Linked DNA regions of Homo sapiens: region 2 is linked to region 1. The links are contacts of gene promoters, found by promoter capture Hi-C in human tissues and cell types (Jung and others, 2019). All regions are on one chromosome and are shown on one strand. Each heading gives the region's core, a stretch centred on a gene start or on the middle of the fragment in contact. The rest is flanking DNA. Distances are from core to core; before and after follow the strand shown. Region 1 holds the start of MCM10 (minichromosome maintenance 10 replication initiation factor). Region 2 overlaps BEND7 (BEN domain containing 7).

Region 1 (2,768 bases), core at 47-2,546:
ATTCTCCGCCTCAGCCTCCCAAGTAGCTGGGATTACAGACGCGCACCACTACGCCCAGCTAATTTTTGTGTTGTGTGTGTTTTTAGTAGAGATGGGGTTTCACCATGTTGGCCAGGCTGGTCTCGAACTCCTAACCTCGTGATCCACCCACCTCGGCCTCCCAAAGTGCTGGGATTACAGGGGTGAGCCACCGTGCCCGGCCTTAGTGCCGTATGTTTAAAAGTACGCATTTAAACATACTTTTTCAATTTGATTACTAGAGTTCCTCCATTACTATGAATTTTTAACACTAGCAGCTCTCAGAAATGGTTGTATTCCTATTCCTGAGCCAATATAGGTTTAAGTAATAGGGCTGAGCTCATAAATGGAGCAGTAATATTCCATTAGGACACAGAAAAAAGTCAACGTAGATGGCATCAGGACTGTTTATCTTCAGTCTTCCTAAAGTCGATTTTAATTGTTCTGAAAATGAAAGTACGTAGTGGATAGAGATAGGATCTTATACCAAAGGGATTATTAGTGGGGGAACTGCAGTGCCTGAACAGTGTCTGCAAGGAGGAAAAGGGGGGAAAGACTTAAAGTGGCCATTTGGTCCATCAAAGTCTCTTCTGCTATCAATCCCTTGAAATTATGTAAAAGCTAAATGTTATTCTGCATTTAGAAACTATGTTCTTAGTATTATGTACAAACACTATTTTTTAGAATGTAAATACATAAAGAGGCCTGAATTTTACTGAAAAAAAAATCTGTGAAAGATATGGTCTGCTGATAAGTTCTCTTCAGCCCTGACGCCCCTTAGAAGTCCCAAAATCTATGGAACAGGAATTACTCGGGAAATGGTGGTTTCAGTGTAAAAGATGTCATCTACCCTTTCCCTCACTGCACAGATGGTGAAGGGGAAACTCAGAGAGATAAGTCACTTCCCCAAGGTCAGACAGGGTAAAAGTGGACCGGATCTGTTTGGTCCTGAGCCCAAACATTTCGAATGGACATAAGGCTGACAAAGGAACAGTCGGTCCCAGAGCGTCAGGAGTTGAGGTGGGATGGGACCGCAGGGAAAATACTGGGTGGGATGACTTAAACTTCCCGGCACCAGGGGGCGCCAGACACTCTATTTTACCTAAAGGAGACTGGCTTCTACCGACAGGAAGGTCCCTTGCCCCCAACAAAGAGGGCGTCCAATGACGTAAACCAATCCGATTGCTCTGTGCCAGGGCCGGGATTCGCTGGCGTAGCCAGTCAGTGCTGCCCCACAGCCGCGTGCGTCTGACGTCAAGGCAGGGGCGGGATCCGGTTGGAATTTTGGCGGGTTCAGCTGTGAACGAAGAAGGCGTCCCGGCATCGGGTGAGGAGCGCGGGCCCCGGGCGTGCGTGTGACCCTCGGGCGGCGGGGCCGGGGCCGCCTCGCACGTCTCTGCGCGGGTTGCAAGGGGTCCGAGGCTAGAGGCGCGGGGTCCCGGGAGCTCGGGTGGGCGCGATCTGGATTTGGCGGCAGCTTGGGACCGCTCGGAGCTGGCATGGCCGGGCCGGGGGCTGGGAGTTGCTGGCCGTCTACTAAGGAATCGGGTTCTTCCTTTTAAACGCAGCCTTTTAAGTGCTTGCCAAGTGCCTGCCGCCTGGGCTTTCTTTTATTCATTCATTCATTCATTCATTCATTGGTTTCTCGTATTCATGATTTGCCAATGATTATTGAATGCGGACGGTGTGCATGGCTCGGATCACATTTCCGCTGCCTTCACAGCGCTTACAGTTTAAAGGCACGAGCAGGTAGTAAACAAATGCACGACAGTGGACGACTCAGGGTGGTCCAGAAAGTCTCAGAAAGATGAGTAAGTGGAGACCGAAGGGCGAGAAGGACCTGGGGGGAGCTTTCTTCGACAGAGCCTGAGACCTCAAAGCAGCTTAGTGTGTTCCAGAAGGTGGAAGCGGGCTGGCCCGGCTGGAGCATCGTTATGGGTGTCGGGGTGGGTAGAATTGGACGTGGTGGATTGTGGAAAATGTGAGGGAGTAGAAAGCTTGGAAAGAGAGAGAGAATATGAATCATTGCCTCGCAGGCTTTGTAGATTTTTTCTAAGGGCAATGGAAAATCATTAAAGAATTTCAATGAAGGGACCCCCATGATCTGATTTATGTTCCTAAAGGTTACTAAGGAAAGGGAAGATTACCGTGGCTGTCGTATGCAGAACAGATTGCACGGGGACAAAGAGACCAACATAGAAAGCTAACACAGTCATTGGGTTAAAGGTTGACGGTGGCTTGGCCTAGGGTTCTGGCAGTGAAGTTGGAGAGAAGTGGCAGATTTGAGCAGTGTTTTGGAGATGGGACCACAGTACTTGTCAGTGGCCGTGGATTTGAGGGCGAGGGAGGGTGCACAGTTTCATTTTGGGGGAAGGCAAGGCCGGTTACAGACTTGAACGAGACAGTTTGCTCCTAACGCTCAGGAAGCTTACTGTCCAATAGGTTCCCCAGTAGATAGCACAGTGTGTGGCACATGAGGGATCCGTGGAAATGTTGGTTGAATGAATTTTTAAAAAGCGGCCAGGCGCGGTGGCTCACGCCTGTAATCCCAGCGCTTTGGGAGGCCAAGGCGGACGGATCACCAGGTCAGGAGATCGAGACCATCCTGGCTAATACGGTGAAACCCCATCTCTACTAAAAATACAAAAAATTAGCCGGGCGTGGTGGCGGGCGCCTGTAGTCCCAGCTACTCGGGAGGCTGAGGCAGGAGAATGGCGTGAACCCGGGAGGCGGAGCTTGCAGTGAGCCAA
Region 2 (2,894 bases), core at 30-2,529, 360 kb after region 1:
ACAACTTCGGTGGCTGTGTGCAGGGGCCCAACTCCCTCAGAAACCCGACAGGCACTAAGGTTTGTTGGTGTGATCTTTAATACATGGCTTTATGTCCTTAAATTAAGGTAGAAAAGCTTGCTTCATGTGAAATCTGAGAAGTCAACAATGTCAACATCAGTTTACAGATGGGCCAGCGCTATCTTAAGCACCTTTCTAAAGCTGTACCTGTGTTAGAGCAGAATAAGGAACAAGCAGAACAAATGTGATTTTCCAATTTTGGTTTCCAACATGTCACTGGCTTTCATATGTGAGTTCTCCTTTTCGGTGTCTTCTGGATTTGAAAAAAGAAGTTGTATCTCACAAATCAACATCAGAAATCCCAAATTTCTACTCTAGTATGTTACAGAAGCTTAAAGTTAAATGAGGCATCTTTTAGTTTGGCTCACTAAATGTCTCTAAAATCTCAATATAGCAGTATACTTTACAATAAATCTTCAGAGTCCTAACGACAGTGTCCAATATATTCATGCATTTAAATCACATATCTGAGGACCTATCAGCAGAGTACCTATTACGGATACAGCATTGTGCTAGGTTCTCAAAGGATCCAAAATGAACTCAGGTCACATTTGCCCTCTAGGATCTGACAATTTACATTAGGAGCGATTAGGAGAGTCCTGAAAATAAACAACCACATTTCAATGTGGCAGCTGTTAAGTTTCGGAGGAGGATCTGCAGGGTGACTTGAGCACAATAAAGCCACACACAAAAATAAGTAAATATTAGGCATCACATGGTAAGTGCCAGAAAAGAGTAATGTTATTACTTAGTGCCCAAGTGATCGGAAGAATAGATAACTCCTAGGCTGGGCACGGTGGCTCACGCCTGTAATCCCAGCACTTTGGGAGGCTGAGGCAGGTGGATCACGAGGTCAGGAGATCGAGACCATCCTGGCTAACATGGTGAAACCCCGTCTCTACTAAAAAAAATACAAAAAAATTAGCCGGGTGTGGTGGCGGGCACCTGTAGTCCCAGCTACTCGGGAGGCTGAGGCAGGAGAATGGCGTGAACCCGGGAGGTGGAGCTTGCAGTGAGCCGAGATGGCGCCACTGCACTCCAGCCTGGGCAACAGAGCGAGACTCCGTCTCAAAAAAAAGAAAGAAAAAAAAAAAGAAAAGATAACTCCTAAATCTGGGAGAAGGAGAGAGAATGGGGTAATAAAAACAGAAATACAGTGTTTTCCAGTTTGAAAAAGCGTTTTACCATACAGGATTTCGCATGTGCGTCAGGAGGGCCAACGTTATTCTTCTATTACAGAAGATGAGGAAAACCCCTCAAGAGTGTTATCCAAGGTGTTAGAACTGGAGCCTGAGATTCAAAGCAAGGTTTTCTGACTCTAAATCCAACTTCTCTCTGCTACGCTATGTAAACTGAGGCGGCTTACAGGCCAAGGTAATATTTGAATTGAGCTTTAAAAACCGATAGGAGAGACAGGATTTTACTAGAAGGAGTTTGGAAATGGGGTAAGGAATGGTAGGAGGCTAGGATGGAGAAGGAGCCGCAGTGAAATGGCAGAGATGAGAATGGGAAGGTGCTTTAGGAGGGAATGATGTGATCAGTTTGACACAGCACATGTTTTCAGTGAGGGTGAAGAGCAAGAGAAGGCTGGAAGGGCGGTTTAGAAACAGACAGCGAACTGAAAGAGAGAGGAGAGCGGGGCCTCACTCCTCCAAGGCAGCATGGTACAGTGGAAAGATCGTGGCCAGGCCATGTCCAAATTCCAGATCCAGGCTCTTGTCTCCTAGTTCTATGACCTTACGTACATTAACAATTCTAAAGGCCCATTTTTCTCATATAAAAGTAGAAATGACAATACCTTCTCAGAGCTGGTCTCAGTGTTAAATGAGATAAAGTTCGGAAGTGCCCAGCACACACCGGAGGCAGTAAACAAGCCCTAGCTCCTTTCTTCCCAGCAGGAGGGGCTTTCCCAGGCCATAGCTCCTGCCCACCCCATTCCTTCTCCCTGTGGTGCCTCCTCTGCACCTGGAAGTCCTGGTTTAGGAAGCCGGTTGGCTCAAGGGAAGGCGGTTACATGAAAGCTGTGGACAGGGAGATGGGTCGGGTCAGACCGTGCATACTAGACACTCAGTGAAGGGCTTTGCCTTGATTCTAGGCCCATGACAAGGGAGCTGAAGTCTCTAAGCAGGAGAGAGGGTGAGAAGTTACGTACTGAGATCAGCCCACGTGGGCAGATTGGAGCAAGGAGCTGTGGCAGCTCTGACAAGGTGAAGAACTCAGAAGTGGATGTCAGGAGACCCCACTGGAAAGTGTGGTCAGCTACTAATGACCATGTAGCCTTGGGCAAATCACTTTCATCCCTGAGTTGAGGTTCCCATTTGTAAAACATGAGGCCGACCCAACAGCAACCTCACAGTGTAGCTGCAATAGAAACTAAATGAGAGATGGAGTGCCCGGATGGCCTAACTACAAATGCCTCCCAGACTTTAGGCAACAAGTCATACGTGAGAACGACCAAGTTCTGCATCCACAGCTACCGAAACATATGTTTATGTGCACATAAATTGAAAGAAGCCATCGGTATTTAAGTTCCCTCAAGAGGCTCTCCAAACTTTGACTTTGCTTGCAATTATTTTTGAAGCCATTTTTCGGTCCTAGAGTATAATCGGACAAATCAGGTGCTGTATGAAGCCTTGGGAACTGTCTAGACCAGGAGTTTTAAAACAGTGACTGGGGGCGCCCTAACATTCTGCAGAGGCCCACAGAGGAATGTGAAATGCACGTAAGGCTCTCTGGGTCTCCTCGACCTTTTTTCAAGCAGCTCTGCTCCCCTTTGATCTGCTGGACATACTGGGGGTTCCGCTTGGGAGCACGTTTGAACAAAGCCTGCCATG

Evidence for each region. The method cuts DNA at HindIII sites, captures the fragments that hold promoters and counts their contacts. A contact is called where the count stands out against the background at its distance.
Region 2: a fragment that was not itself captured here is called in contact with the fragment with the promoter of MCM10 in region 1 in 1 of the 25 tissues and cell types used here (heart left ventricle).

Annotation. Positions count from the first base shown.
Region 1 is chr10:13,160,262-13,163,029 of GRCh38, forward strand. It overlaps MCM10 (minichromosome maintenance 10 replication initiation factor), which reads left to right and starts at 1,297. Exons shown (of 20, transcript NM_018518.5): 1 at 1,297-1,345. RefSeq lists silencers at 1,046-1,359, 1,382-1,561. The HindIII fragment of the contact is 5,218 bases long and covers 1-2,230 here.
Region 2 is chr10:13,518,346-13,521,239 of GRCh38, forward strand. The region is part of intron 2 of BEND7 (BEN domain containing 7); the gene reads right to left. Among named protein-coding and RNA genes, the nearest start is that of BEND7-DT, 8.8 kb to the right of the region's middle. The HindIII fragment of the contact is 3,108 bases long and covers 1-2,833 here.